4 separate regions of the Homo sapiens genome follow, and all the other regions are linked to region 1. The links are contacts of gene promoters, found by promoter capture Hi-C in blood cells and fetal thymus (Javierre and others, 2016). All regions are on one chromosome and are shown on one strand. The core of a region is centred on a gene start or on the middle of the fragment in contact, and the rest is flanking DNA. Distances in the headings are between cores, read along the strand shown.

Region 1 (4,220 bases), core at 1,278-3,777:
CAACTATATGACATTCTGGAAAAAGCAAAACTATGAAGACAGTAAAAAAAAATTAGTAGTTGCCGGGGTTAGGAGGCAGGGAGAGATGAATAGTCTGAGCACCAGGGATTTTTAGGCAGCAAAACGACTCTATATGGTACTAAATGCTGGAAACATGTCATTATACATTTATACCAACCCATGAAATGTGCAACACCAAGAATGAGCCCTAATATACACTATGAACTCTGGGTGGGAATAATGGATAAATGTAGGTTCATCAGTTGTAAATGTACTACTCTGTTGTGGGATGTTGATAATGAGGGAGTTTATGTATGTGTGGGGACAGGAGTTACATGAGAAATCTCTGTACCTTCCTCTCAGTTTTGTTGTGAACCTAAAACTGCTATTAAAAAAGAGTCTATTTTTAGAAAAGGAATTGGTAAAAAAAACAAAACAAAACAAAAAAAACACAGAAGTAGCTCTACCACTCCCTGGCTGGGTGGCCTCAGGCAATTTGATTTCTCTTTTTCTCAGTTGTTTTTCCATCTGTTAAAGGGATAATAACTATTTCTTAAGATTTGTGTGACTTGAGTGAGTTGATATTGTCCAAGCATTTTAAATAGTGCCTGACACATTAAATATTTGTGAAATAGATTAAAAATAGTATTCACCACTCTGTATTGTAACTGTTTGATGATTCATCTGTGTCACCTTTAATTAAAAGCTCCCTGTGGATAGACTCCATGTCTAGCTTGTTCAGCATTTGAGCCTTTAGCTGGGCTGTGACACACAGGAAGTACCAAGGAAATATTTATTGAATGAGATGTCTAGCAGTGGAATGGGCTTCCCTGTTGGTCTAATTATTTAAGAAAAGGATGTGATGATCACCTGTCAGTGATGTTCCGGAGAGTATACCTAACACAGGAGGCTAGCAATAGTGGCTAAAATTTCTTCCAAATCTAAGATTGCATTATTCTATTTATACTTTTTCTTTAGCATTTTTTGCAGTCTAACAACAGTACCACCATAATAAAAGAATTGCATCTTTCAGCACTTGCCACCTTCACCCTTAAATAGGTTCTAGCCATACTAAAATACTTCTAGCGTTTAGGATCTTCCTCTCCTTAGGCACATTACATGCTTTTCCCTTTGTTTAGAATGCTATCTTAGACTTGTCTGTTTCACTTTCTGTATACAATTTCCAGAAAGGCTTCCCTGCTCCTCCACAAGAGTACCAAGCAATAGAATTTTGGCTTTGTATTTATCACGTTTTAAATACTGCCTGATTGCTAATTCACTAAATTGTAAGCTGCTTGAAAGCTGGATCTGTGTCTTGTCTACTGATCTTTCTCAATCACTTAAAACTTACTACTATGCAGTCATAGTAGTAAGTATTCAAGGGCATAAATGAAACCATCTTACATAGGTCTATTGTTTTTCAATTGTGTGCATCACAGACAATTTTTAAAAGCACTTTTCTTTTTATAAATGTTTGGCTAACCTGTTACAATGTTTTGTAGTAAAATTCTCTCCCAATGTCAATTTTCCATATCTGCTTAATGCTATTAAGCACAATATGTAATATGCAAACGTGTATTCCAAAACTAATACTTGCTTTTTTTCCATGCTTAGAATTTAAAGTCTTCAAAGCAAGTTGGTTTTGTTTTGTTTTGTTTTTGAGGAAAATGTTTGGAGGTAAACAGATCAGACCAAAATCAGCTAGATATTAGCCAATTTTGTCTGGAACAAAAAAAGAAAACAAAAGAGTTCGTTCTTACTGTGAATGCCACAATTAGTGAAAAAGATGAATCTTGATATTCCGGGCTGTCTGAATTGTGCTGATGAGAGAAGAAGTAGAAATGTTTTAACCTTTGAAGAGTTTGGTGATCCCTACTCTCCCTTCACTCCCATTTATTTTGTGGTTTCCCACAAAGGTTCATTTAAAAACTGAAAAAAATCTCATCAATTAAGTTGGCCTTAAGAACTTCTTTGGCCTTAAGAACTAGCAATATTTCTGTATTCCATTCTGTCCCTGAGGAAAATAAAAGGCAGGCCCTGCACCAAATTTCCAACTCAACAGGTAATGGGGAAAAAAAATTTAATTGAATTTGTATCTGTATCGCAGAAAAATCATTTCACCTGGCACAATTAGAAGGTTCCTCAGACCTGTTACTCAGCAATTGGCATTTACCATACAAACTGATGACTCATTAATAACGACATATCATTCAGTGTCAGAAATCAATTCGGGATAACATTTCACTACATTAGTTTAGTGAAAAGGGCTTACTCACGTAACACAAGTCTTTCTTTAGTTTGTCAGACATCTATTACCAGCTTTCTTCACTCTGCAGGTCTAGCTTTCCCCTCCTCTCCCCCTCCCCTACCCACTCTCCCCTCCCTCTTCTCTCCTCCCTCCTCCTTACCCCCTCCTCCCTCCTTTGTTTTTCCCTCCTCCCTCCTCCCTTTCTCCTTCCGGGAGGCGGGACAAGGCTTGCTTGCGTCCTCCGTAGATTGGCAGGTCACTGGGACGGCCAGCGCGTGCGCACTGGCCTGTCAGCGGCCGGTGGACCATGGAGGCCGCAAGGCCCTTCGCCCGGGAGTGGAGGGCCCAGTCCCTACCCCTGGCAGTAGGGGGCGTTTTGAAGCTGCGGCTCTGTGAGCTGTGGCTACTGCTACTGGGTTCTAGTTTGAACGCCAGATTTTTGCCAGACGAGGAGGACGTAGACTTTATCAACGAGTACGTGAACCTCCACAATGAGCTGCGGGGCGACGTCATTCCCCGAGGGTCTAACTTGCGCTTCATGGTGAGGCCGGAAGGCGGTTTGCCGACCCTTCCACTACCGTTGCCACAACGCCTCCCTGGATCTCGGGTAGTTGGGGCCACTGCTCTGAGGCTGAAGGATCGCGGAGAACCGCACTTTTAGCTTGGTTTTTAAAGTACACGTGAAGTTTACACAGAGAAAAACTGCGGACACTCTAACACATGCTTATTACCATGATATTACACAGGGCCAGGACTAAGGTGATGGAGGCACTGGCCTGAAGTGCAGATTTTAAGGGGGCGCCAATTCAAGAAAATGATATTTTAATGCAACGGGTTTTTAAAAATTAAAAATCAGTGCAAAAATATCAATATCAAGGGTAAAGAAAATGTTAAAAAATTTAACAAAGACAGGTTCCTTGGGTCTGGATTAGGGAAAAACAAGTGCGACACTCTCAGGGTGGTGCAAATCAAGATGAGATTCTGTTTGTATTTGAAATTTTTATTTTTAGCTTTTTCCATCATCGATGTCACATTAGCTTTGCCTTTTAAAAATGTTTGTTATCTTGATTTTTTTTTTTTGTGCCCATTCCAAATTTGGCTCCTAAGGAAGTGTCTCAGTTTCCTCACCCTAGTCTTGACCCTGATTTTGCCTTACCTTACAATGCGGTTCTTGCTTTCCCCCTCTTTTACACCCTATAGTCATTTAACAACTCAACTATTCCCTGGTTGCTATTGAGTTTTCCTGACTGTCATTAAAATGACTGAAAATCCGGCAAATAAATAACTGTCCTCTTAGGGAATTAGAAGCTTCAAACTTATAAATTATATTGCAAGGACTACTTTCCTAGACATGTCTTTTCTTCCTTCAGCATTAGTTCTTAGCACAAATTTCAGAAATGGGATAAATAAATTAAGGGTATGATATTTTTTATTAATTTAACACATAGCAATTGCTATGCTAAAGGGTAGTGCCAAATTTAGCAAATACCAGCTGTTCTGTTTTCACCACATCCTCACTGATTTGGACATGTTCAATTACTTGCTAAATGAATAAATTACAAAAATGGTCATTTGTTTTAATGTTGATTTTAAAATACTATTTTGATAGGACATACTTGAGTTCTTTCTTCGTCATTTCCTTTACCTTTTATATTGTCAGCATTTCCATGTCAGATTATATGCTGTCTTATAGAACTATGCTAGCATTTGGTTCTATCTGCTGAAGATACTTTTTTCTAAGCCAATTCTTTTTCTTTTGAATTCAATTATAGAGTTTGGGGATATTTGGGAGTTTCAACTAATTTCCCATTTTTTGTGACTAATTCTGTTTCTTCCCAATTTGAAGATTATCCTTACTCCTGAAAATTAATAAACACATAATACTTTCTAATACAACTTTTCATAGGTTTTCTATCTCATCTCTAAAAATTATATAGTATTTCAAACATAAGGTATATAAAATAATATACCT
Region 2 (3,810 bases), core at 285-2,784, 1.1 Mb after region 1:
TGTACCCTAAATAAATGAAACAAACAAAACAAAAGGTTAATAACTCCTTACATCTATACAATGGGTATATTAGTGTTCACTGTACTCTTTTTTTAACTTCCCTGTTTGCCTGAAAACATTCATAATAAATATAAACAAGTGTAGTTTTAATTATTAGTAACTAACCCTTTTGTTGGTTCATTAACTCCTAAGTTAAAGAATTCCTCTAAATATTCTAGTGCACAGATACATGCATCAGAGAAACCATATCTATTATAGCCAAAATTCTGATGCACAGTGCAAAAAAAAACCAGGTCAGTTGCATTGTTTCAGAATTTTATCTTAATGAAGCTTATTTATACCAGAGTGTGTATCATATATCGTTTTTCAGGTCTTCCAAAAAGCATTTTGGCAACAAAAATGCTAACTTTTCAAAAATACAATCGACAACTAAGCAATATATGTTATAGTAATTATTTTCATCTTGTTACATAAATTTTTATAGTTCCTACCATGCTATATGAAAGTGTTTCCATCTAATATATGACTAGATAAACATTTTCTATTGAAATAAAGTAGAGGATGGGTGCGGTGGCTCACGCCTGTAATCCCAGCACTTTGGGAGGCCAAGGTGGGCGGATCACAAGGTCAAGAGATCAAGACCATCCTGGCCAACACGGTGAAATCCCGTCTCTACTAAAAACACAAAAATTAGCTGGGCATGGTGGCATGCGCCTGTAATTCCAGCTACTCAGGAGGCTGAGGCAGGAGAATCGCTTGAACCCGGGAGATGGAGGTTGCAGTGAGCTGAGATCGCGCCACTGCACTCTAGCCTGGCGACAGAGCAAGACTCTGTCTCAAAAAATAAAGAAAGAAAGTAGAAAATGATCATGTAACTTACTATTTACAAGGTAGTACTCATTTGAAAAGTTACTAAAGCCAAATTTCAAAAGATAATTCATAAAGTTACAACATCAAAACTGACTAATTACAAAGTATGACAGAACTCTAAATTTAATTTTTAAAAATACTCAATAACCTAAGTATACATTAACTTTCAAAACACCAAATTTCATTTCTCAGTTTTAAAAGCAGAAGTCCTTCCACCACAGCTATGAGTAGTACCACAGGAGATTTCCGTACATTTGATTAAATAAACTTCAGCTGAGGAGCAGAATCCATTATACAAAACTTATCAATTATGAATTAGAAACTGTGATCCCTGAACTTCTGGGAGTACCCAAAGACCCTTCTAGAGGATCTGCAAGGTGAAAACTAGTTTCATAATACTTTTTCATTATGTTGCCATTTTCATTGATGGCACAAAAGCAATCTTGGGTAAAACTGCTGGCAACTTAGCATAAATCAAGGCAGAGGCACCAAACTGGAGTAGTAGGCACTGAATTCTTCAGTCATGCACTCACAGAAGAATGACAGTTTCACTTACAGATGTCCTTGATGAAGAAGTAAAAATTATTGCTCTTGAACCTTTAGTACGTAAGATTTTAATATTCTGTGCAACAGAATGAGAAGCATACATAAAGCCCTTCTCTGTACTATATTTTTTAATGTGTCAACACTTGGAAGATCTGCATAATTCAGTGAGCAAATATTTTCCAAATGACTAATGCATGATGTTACAAAATCATGCATGAGTAAAGAGCCATTCAAAATTCAAGAGTGAATTTTAACAGAGTATGAAAAGTGTACTGACAGCGTTTCAGATTCCAGATTGCAATTAACATAAAGAAAATTACTACTAGTCAAGTTTTGGCATATTATCAAAGAATATCTATAATTATGTATAAACCCCCCCCATATATATATATGCATGAGACCAGATTTTATTCATATACTTCAATCGGATCATCACATCACAACAGACTGCAGAAGCAGATACAAAAATGCAGGTGTCTTTTAAGCTAGACATTAAAGTGATTTGCAAAAACCGCCAAAAAGCAGTTCTTAATCATGGATGGTTTTGTCCCTCAAGGGATACTTGGCAACATCTGGAAACATTTCTGGTTGTCACAACTGGGGTAACTGCTATTGACATTTTCTGGGTAGAGGCCAGGGATACTGCTAAACATCATATAATGCATAGGACAGCCCTCCACAACAAAGAACTTTCCAGGCCAAAACAGTGCCAAGGTTGAGAAGTCCTGAAAATAGTTCGAAGGTTGAGAAGTCCTGGGATAAACCATTACCAACCTTCTCAATCAACTTTTTGGGGAGTAGAGGGAAAGAAAACACTGTAGTTCTTAATAAAAATGTTACTTACATTAACATGTAATGGGTTTATTACTTTAAATGAATTAAATTTTTAAATTTCTAGTTTTAATTTATAATATAATAAAATAGATATAACTCACATAAACAAAAGCACTTCACAGTCTTCAATAATTTTTAAGACTACAAAGGAACCATGAGACCACAAAGTGTGAGAATCGCCAAATTAGATGAATGATATAACTAACGAAGTATGTTGGAGAATATTAAAAAAAATTAAAAGTCTAAAGGAAAGTGTACTCATTTCAAGAGTATTATAGATGACCTAAACAAAACAAACAAAACCCCTTACAAAACCAAATAGTTAAAAAGAAAAAAAATATGATAGTCCCCAAATGTCATTCTCCCCTTCTCCCCTCCAAAAACAAAAACAAAAACAAGACAAAACATGAAAACCACAACTTCCTACCCTGGCTATGAGGACTTGCTGGACTAAGAGATGGCTGATGCAAATCTTTGGTTGGCGTTGGATAAGCTTCTTTTCCTTGGCGCTGACTCATCTTTCCTGGTGTCAGAAGCTGAGATTCGTCACTGTTTGCTACAACAGCTCAAGGAAAGAAGGGAAAAATAATTAGTACTGAAGTCACAGATTTACATAATAGTATAGTTAATAACATGGAATAAGATCAAAACTGAAATGGCCTTGGTGGTTATATTCATTTTACCAACTCAATACTTTAATAAATTCTCACAGTCATCTTGTTTTCATGTTGGTTTGTTACTGATCCAAGAAGAACTGACAGGTATGTTTGAGTCAAATATACAAATTATAGACATTATAATAATGAAAATACATATCCAACTGATAATGAAAGGCCTAAGGTTTACTGTGTGCCTTTCATTGTGCTATTTATTCTTTATATTTACCAACAAAATAAGCCAAAGCCAGTCATTTCCCAAAAAAAAAAATACAAATCGTCGATAAACATATAAAGATACTCAGCCTCATTAGTAATCAGAAAAACTACAAATTACTAGCAGTATAAAATAATATTTGACATTCGCTAGAATTTCTACTCTAATTTCTAATTTTCACGAAAAGTCGGTATGATAACTGTTTTAGAGAGGAGGAAACTTGAGGGTCAGAGATTGCCTTGCCTGAGGCTAAACAGTAATAGAGGCAAGATTCTAACTCAGAACCATTTGGTTCCAAAGTCTGTCTCTTAAAGCTTGCTGCCCCAATAAACAATTTAAGTAGTGCTTTGTAGTTGCTTCTCACCCATTTGGCCATCCTACTATCTATCGCTCAGTAATAGCGAGCCATGCCCAGTTTCAGAGAGCAGAAACAAAGTGAAAACACTCAATGAAGAAACAGGGCAAACTGCCAAGTCCAAAGTACCTGAGGATCTCCACATTCTTTCATTTTATATTCCTGTGCTTTCAGCCTATAAAAACTCGAGTTTCATCTTAAGAAAGGACGATTTACTAGCACTTTGGGAAGTCGAGGTAGGTGGATCACCTGAGGCCAGGAGTTCGAGACCATCCTGGCCAACGTGGCGAAACCCCGTCTCTACTAAAAATACAAAAATTAGGCAGACGTGT
Region 3 (3,759 bases), core at 736-3,235, 1.2 Mb after region 1:
CATAGACAGCTGTCTTCTCATTCTAACCTCACACGGTGGAAGGGCTGAGGGTTCTCTCTCAGGCCCATTTTATAATGGCAGTAATCTTATTAATGAGGGAAATAACCCTATAATCTAATAATATCCCAAATGCCCCGCCTCCCAATACCATCATTTTGGAGGTGAGGAGTTCAACATTTGAATTTTGGGGGAACATAAACATTCAGACCACAAGAACAATAATTTATTTGTTTATATTAAAAGGAACCATCTTCTCTGCCTCACAGTTTTCCTACCTGGCTCTTAAAATAGAAATATGTTTCTTTCAGAACTATAGAGTCAAGAGGAAATTTCATCTTTCTTTCTGCCACTTTCCCCAAGTGGAAGGAGTTTTGTATTTAATTGGTGATTTGGGGAGAAAAACATAAAACCCAAGCCATTTCTTGCCATCTTTTTCAAATCTTCCCACCCACAAGAAATTATATTCTGCTCAGTTCCTCAATATATGTCATAAACTAAAAACACACGGATTAGGGCCTATGCTTGTCTTCTAGAACAGGCCTGAGGCCTAACTCTCATTCTTTCTACTGTTGATCTCACCAAGCAGAAACAGTGATTCTACACAAGTCTATCCATCGTGCAGACTCAAATTCTCCTGTGGCGAGTCATCACCCATTTGGACTTAGGAAGTATTTGACCAGCTTGGCCAACATGGTGAAACCCCGTCTCTACCAAAAATACAAAAATTAGCTGGGCATGGTGGCAGGTGCCTGTAATCCCAGCTACTCGGGAGGCTGAGGCAGGAGAATTGCTTGAACCCAGGAGGCAGAGGTTGCAGTGAGCTGAGATCACGCCACTGCACTCCAGCCTGGGTGACAGAGTGAGACTCCGTCTAAAAAAAAAAAAAAGAAATATTGAAAAACCTGGTCATGGTTGTATATTATAATACATCCAATCAGCTTTATCTTAGGAAGCTTTTTTGAAATGAAGTCTCACTCTGTCACCCAGGCTGGAGTGCAATGGCATAATATCACTGCTCACTGCAGCCTCTACCTCCTTGGCTCAAGCGATCCTCCTACCTCAGTCTCCCAAGTAGCTGGGACTACAGACATATGCCACATGCCTGGCTAATTTTTCAAACATTTTGTAGAGATGGAGTCTCCCTATGCTAGGCTGATCTTGAACTCCTGGACTCAAGCAACTCTCCCACCTCGGCCTTCTGAAGTGCTGGGCTTATAGTCATGAGCCACCATGCCAAGCCGAGAAGTTGGTATTTTATCTTTTTGGCTTCCTATCAATTGGGTCTGAATTCAGGGAAGAGTTAAGATGTGTGAGCAGCTATCACTGCCTAAGCCCCATTAATGACAGGATAGTAATACATTTTTTAATAGGTAACTCTAACCAAAAGTAGTTGTTTTATGAGAACCTAGGTCTAGCAAAAGAAATAAACTTAAATCTTGCCAGTCTAACAATAAGGGAATAAAATATCCCAGCAGCCAAGTGTGGCAGCTTATGTCTGTAATCCCAGTATCTTGGGAGTCCGACACAGGAGGATTGCTTGAGCCCAGGAGGTCAAGGCTAAAGTGAGCCTTGGTTGTAGCACCATGTTAAAGCCTGGGTGACAGAGTGAGACCCTGTCTCAAAAAAAAAAAATTTTTTTTGTTTATTTATGAATGCCTACTGTGTGCAAGGCAGTGTTCAGAGGAGAAGTTTAAAGAGTTAGAATACTAATACTTTAAACAAAAGTTACCTGGTACTCTAATTTTATTGTTTGAGTTTTGAATTGCTATAATGATCAAGGCAAAGAAATATCATAATTATAACATTTGAGTGCTTATGGCTTGTCAAATGAGCAGTTTCCTGCGAAACAATATCTGATTGAATCCTCAAAACAACTCTGTGAGACAATACATGAGAATAGTCTAGGTTGTGCTGCAGTTGGGAGAAAAAGCAAATGTTTAACAAAAAGTTAGCTCTGGCTGCAGGCAACTCTCCAGGCAACTGTCTTCCATGCAACAACGTGATAATCCAGGCAGCTTCAACCTTGTGGTGCTGCCATCTTAAGATGAATCTTTTTCCATGGTTGCCACAGTCGGGAAAGAAAAAAATTTCATATCGACCTTTTACTGCCACATCCTGAAGGTGACACACGTAAAATCTACAGTTTTCACTGGCCAGACCAAGTCACATGGCTCCATTCAGTTGTAGGGTCGCTGAGGAATACAGTCAATCCACTGAGTGGCCAGAAAGGAAAGAGAAGTAAATATTGATTAACAAAGCAATATGTAGCATAAATAGCTATTATGACTGTTGTTTTTATATAGGTGAAGAAATGTAGGCTTAGAAAAATTAAGTTATTCATCCAAAGGTACATATAAGGTAAGTAGGGGAGCCTCAGCATATGGACCTATCTGACTCCAGAGCCTGTGCCTAACTTCTATCTTCCATTACCTCCCAGCACCGCACTGGAAGCCTGGCAGAACCTAGCCACCACTAGGGATATTTAATTCAATTCATATACATTCAGTTCAATTCAAATCAGCATATATTTGCTAAATGCTTTCTCTTTGCCAGGCATTGCAGCTGCATCTGGAGGAGGGTTGAGCTATTTCACCATATAGATCTCCTACGACTTTGAGACTGTGATGTAAAGAAATAGGCAACTGTGATGGTTATTTTATTTGACAACTTGGCTGGGCTGTGGTACCCAGATATTTGGTTAAACGTTATTCTGGATGTTTTGGTGAAGGTGTTTTTGGATGAGATTAACATTTTAACCAGTGGATTTTAAGTAAAGCAGATTACTTTCCATAATATGGACGGGCCTCATCAATCGGTTGAAGGCCTTCATAAATCAAAGACTGACCTCCCCAGAGAAGGAAGGAATTCTGCCAGCAGGTTGCCTTTGGACTCAAGCAGAAACTGAGTCCCCACAATCATGTGTGCCAATTCCTTAAAATAAACATCTATATCTATAATATCTATATGTATACACATTCTGTTGGTTTGGTTTCTCTGGACAACCCTAACTAATATAACAAGCTTAAAAATTAGTTCTATAAAACAGGGCTAAGAAATGATTCTTTATTATACTTTAAGAACAAGATCCTCTGCAATCCCTATTTACTTTTATCTTTGAATGTTAAGTAAAAATAGCAGAATTCTAAAATAACCTACAGAAATAAGTCAAGATTCATTATATTTTCTATAATACAAGAAGTTTTACAAAGCTATTCATCATAAAATACATAAATTTTTGCAAGGAACCTTGTGGACTGAAAAAACAGCCAAAACAAATCTGCCACATACAGGCCCCAGAATGTGGTTTTATAATCTGTCCACTTAGGAAACTGTTCCAATTATCTTCACAAATTCAGTATTGTGAGAATGTGTCTAGGTGTTAATTATCATTTTAGAAGGAAGTCAGCTCTCCTACACAGCTAAGAATGCTAACAGTCTCCAATTTTAACTTGTTCTCTTATACAAGATGCTGTTTTGGGAAGTATTTAGTTGCCCCCTGCTGGCCATACAATTGCAGGATTCATTTTTTAAAAAGTTCTCAGTAGATTGCAGATGATAATGATAAACTTCTGAAGAGATGCATTCAACTTTTTCATCAGATGAATTCACAATAGACTTCCAATGCTCAATTGAGATACGTAAGTTAATAAAAAAAATTTTTTTCCCCACCACCTGGTATAGGGTGAAATGTTCCAGCAGGAAGACTTTAAGCTAGATCAGTGGGAGAACAGGATGAGATGTAGGAGGAGTGACTGAGGG
Region 4 (3,742 bases), core at 199-2,698, 1.4 Mb after region 1:
TGAGTTCTAGTTTCATCATTTATAATGGATAAAAATAATAGTTAATAAGCTATAGCGAGGATTAACTGAGATAATATGTTTTTGTTGTTAAAATAAGCAGTGTTTTCAGTCTCCTTTGGGAAGAAACCCATTCTCTGTCTTGGTAAGTAATGAAATAATAGTACTTTTAACCTCTTTTTGGAGAGAACATAGACTTTGGGTCAGACAGACTTGGATTCTAATTCTGGAAATTCGGTAACTAGCTAAGTGACCTGAGACAAGTGCTTAATTTCTTTAAGCTTCAGTTGTAATCAGAAAATGGAGATCCTGGCTGGGCTCGGAGGCTCACACCTGTAGTCCCAGCACTTTGGGAAGCCGAGGTGAGAGAATCACTTGAGCCCAGGAGTTCGAGACCATCCTGGGCAACATGGCAAAACTCTGTGTCTACAGAAAATACAAAAATTAGCTGAGCATGGTGGTACACGCCTGTAGTCCCAGCTAATCGGATGCTGAGGTGGGAGGATTGCTTGAGCCTGGAAGGTTGAGGCTGCAGTGAGCCATGATCGAGCAGCTGTACTCCATCCTGGGTGACAGAGCAAGATTATGTCTCAAAAAAAAAAAAAAAAGAAAAGAAAAGAAAATGGAGATGCTGCCTAGTTTACTTGGCTGTAAGGGATTAAGTGAGGCTATATGTTGAGGGTCAAGAACTGGCACATTGTAGGTGCTCAGTTAATGTTACTTCTTTTTTCTCTACCAGAAGAAAGGGAAGTGTTACACATTTATTTTGGTTTTGGTGACTGATTTAAAACTTATGTGGGTTTTAATTTAGTGGAATAGGATCTTGCAGGAACAAATTTCATTTCACTTTTTATCTTCCAATTTAATACTCTCACACAAAAACAGTTTTTCACTTTAGTATTTGTTAAGCAGATGAATTATTTGTGGGTAAAGAAATGAGCATTGCTTAAATCTCTTATTAGTATGCAAACTGCCCACTGTTAAAACCTTTCTTAGAGGATTATACAATTAGATAAACGCCTTTTTAGAGGTATTTTAGGTAAGATAATCTTACTTTTTAATGAATTAAATCATCCACTCATTTAGTTGGTCATTTAAACATTTGTTTGTCATGTTTGGGTAAGGAATTGTGCTGGAGTCTGTGTGAGACTTCAGGATATTTTTGGTGTTCAGTGAGAGGCAGTGTAGAATACTGGTTAAGAGCCAAAGTTGGCTGGGCGTGGTGGCTCACGCCTGTAATCCCAGGGTTTAGGGAGGCCGAGGCGGGCGGATCACCTGAGGTTCGGAGTTCAAGACCAACCTGACCAACATGGAGAAACCTTGTCTCTATTAAAAATACAAAATTAGCCATGCGTGGTGGCACATGCCTATAATCCCAGCTCCTCAGGAGGCTGAGGCAGGAGAATTGCTTGAACCCGGGAGGTGGAGGTTGCAGTGAGCCGAGATTGCACTCCAGCCTGGGCAACAAGAGCAAAACTCTCTTAAAAAAAAAAAAAATCCAAAGCTGTGGTGACAAACTGAAAATGTAGCTTCTGCAGCTTACTGTTATCATGGTCAAAGTACATTTTTCTCATTTGTAAAGTTGGGTTAATAGTGACACCTTTTACAGTTATTGTGAATATTAACTAGGCTAATGTTTATAAAGCAGTTTTCATAGACCTAGGCACATAGGCTGCCAAGCAAATTGTACCTTCTGAAGGCCCTGGCATATAGTGAATACTGAAAGGGAAGCTGCTGTTACTTTGTTTTCTTTTGAAATAGGTGATTATTTGTTTTATTGAAATGAAAGAAATTAAAGGCTCTTTGGATAAAGAAGAACTGATGATCAAGGGATTAGGGTACTAGTTCTAGCTCAGTGACCTTGAGCTAGTAGGTATTTAACTGGTCTCAGTTTTGTTGCTTTTAAGATAAAGTAGCTAGACTAGATGACCTCTAAGATTTCTTCAGACTCAAGTGTTCTGGTTTTAAATTGTGATTTTTCAATATAATCAACTTGAGCATCTGTCTACTAGGTACGTAGCATTGTGTTAGGTTATATGGGTTAAAATAACATAAAAAAGATAGCATATGTTTTCCAGAAGGTAAATAACTAGTTGGGAAGTTGTAGGCACGTGAAACACTGGACGATTCAAATAAGTACTGAATTAAGTAATGTAGCTTGTAAGTGGTGTCAGATTCCTGTCATTTAGAGTGGTTAGAAGAAAGGCTTCCGTAGAGGGACAGAGACCATATGTTGGTCTACTGGTCCAGCAGACTAGCCATGACCAGCTTCCATTTTACCTACTAGTACATCCTCAGTAAGTCATCTCAGCTCTTTGATAGAATGAGATCACAATATCCCCTTCTGCCACAGTATCACAGGGGCTATTTCAGAACCATCTGACTCAGAGCTTTGAACTGGATTGCCTAGATTATCTAGGGCTTTCATCTCTTTCTTTCTTCCTTTTTTCTCTATTTCAAAACTTCTGCTATTGCCTTTTTTTCTCATTTTCGTCTCTCTTTTTATGGTAACGTTTTTTATTTCACATTCATTTTATTATTTCTGATGATTTCTGTTTGAATATTAAATCAAACTATTGCTATTATCTACTGTCCTCACAGATTTCATAAAATCTACTTTTTGAAGCTTTTGGTTTTTTGCTTTAGTTTGAGATGGAGTTGCGCTCTTGTTGCCCAGGCTGAAGTGCAATGACGTGATCTCGGCTTACTGCAACCTCAGCCTCCTGCGTTCAAGCGATTCTCCTGCATCAGCCTCCCGAGTAGCTGGGATTACAGGTGCCTGCCACCACACGTGGCTAATTTTTTGTATTTCTAGTAGAGATGGGGTTTCACCATGTTGGCCAGGCTGGTCTGGAACGCCTGACCTCAGGTGATCCACCCGCCTCGGCCTCCCAAACTGCTGGGGTTACAGGCATGAGCCACCATGCTCGGCCATGAAGCTGTTCTTTAGTGAAAAGAATTTTGCCATTTTCTATTACTTTTTGCCCTATTATGTATATATTATATGTGTGTGTGTATATATATGTATTTGTACACATATAAGGTAATTCATTTGCTTTCAGAAAGCAGATACAAAATGACTTTGAAAGTTGTTTTTCTTCCCATAGGTTACCTGCAACTCTTTTCCTTCAAAGCACTTCTTTATGCAGTCACTAGGATTTGATGCCTTTTAAAAAATTCAGCAAAAATGTTATAGGTCATATAATAATAATCTAGATTTTAAAATAATGTATATTTTAAAATACTATATATTAAGCTTAGTAACTACTATGCTTAGTATAGTGACCACTGTTAAGCCCAGTAACCACTGAGCATTACTATTAAGCTTAGTAATCACTGAGTCAATAGATATAAAATTAAAATGTGATTAATTGGTGAGACTTCATGGATTGTGCTCAAAGCCAGAGTTGAAAATTACTGACCAAAAAATTGTTCTGGTTTTGAGAAATGTCATTTTCCTGATTCGGCTTGTTTTATTTTGTTCATTATTTTTATTTAATTTGGGAGGATCTCAAAAGTATTTATTAAGAGTGGACTGTGGAGTTGGTGGATATAAGAGTATATAGGTTAAAAGTGAGCAATGGTGTTAGGATTCAAATCTCAATTCTGCTCACTAGCTTGCAATCCTGGGCACGTTATTGAACTCTGCATCCCAATTTTCCAAACTAAAATGGGGGTATAATAACACCTACTTTATGAGGCTGTTGTGAGGATTAAGTGAGATAATACATGTGAAGTTCTGTGT

What was found. Contacts are between HindIII fragments. The CHiCAGO score rates a contact against its expected background, and 5 or more counts as called.
Region 2: a fragment that was not itself captured here is called in contact with the fragment with the promoter of GLIPR1L2 in region 1 in 2 of 17 cell types (monocytes and M2 macrophages); the score reaches 6.7 in monocytes.
Region 3: a contact is called between a fragment that was not itself captured here and the fragment with the promoter of GLIPR1L2 in region 1, in 2 of 17 cell types (naive CD8 T cells and naive B cells). The highest score is 6.1, in naive CD8 T cells.
Region 4: a fragment that was not itself captured here is called in contact with the fragment with the promoter of GLIPR1L2 in region 1 in 2 of 17 cell types (non-activated CD4 T cells and naive CD8 T cells); the score reaches 8.2 in non-activated CD4 T cells.

The regions. Positions count from the first base shown.
Region 1 is chr12:75,388,562-75,392,781 of GRCh38, forward strand. It overlaps GLIPR1L2 (GLIPR1 like 2), which reads left to right and starts at 2,528. Exons shown (of 6, transcript NM_001270396.2): 1 at 2,528-2,789. The coding sequence starts at 2,556. It also overlaps a transcript of CAPS2 not described here. RefSeq lists a silencer at 2,330-2,502 and an enhancer at 2,460-2,589. The HindIII fragment of the contact is 6,589 bases long and covers 1-3,554 here.
Region 2 is chr12:76,448,174-76,451,983 of GRCh38, forward strand. It overlaps OSBPL8 (oxysterol binding protein like 8), which reads right to left. Exons shown (of 24, transcript NM_020841.5): 4 at 2,678-2,815. Among named protein-coding and RNA genes, the nearest start is that of BBS10, 100 kb to the left of the region's middle. The HindIII fragment of the contact is 2,413 bases long and covers 329-2,741 here.
Region 3 is chr12:76,583,498-76,587,256 of GRCh38, forward strand. All of the region lies in intron 3 of LOC105369850 (a long non-coding RNA gene), which reads left to right. Among named protein-coding and RNA genes, the nearest start is that of OSBPL8, 26 kb to the left of the region's middle. RefSeq lists a silencer at 508-708. The HindIII fragment of the contact is 2,068 bases long and covers 952-3,019 here.
Region 4 is chr12:76,766,430-76,770,171 of GRCh38, forward strand. The region is part of intron 1 of ZDHHC17 (zDHHC palmitoyltransferase 17); the gene reads left to right. Among named protein-coding and RNA genes, the nearest start is that of ZDHHC17, 4.2 kb to the left of the region's middle. The HindIII fragment of the contact is 2,345 bases long and covers 277-2,621 here.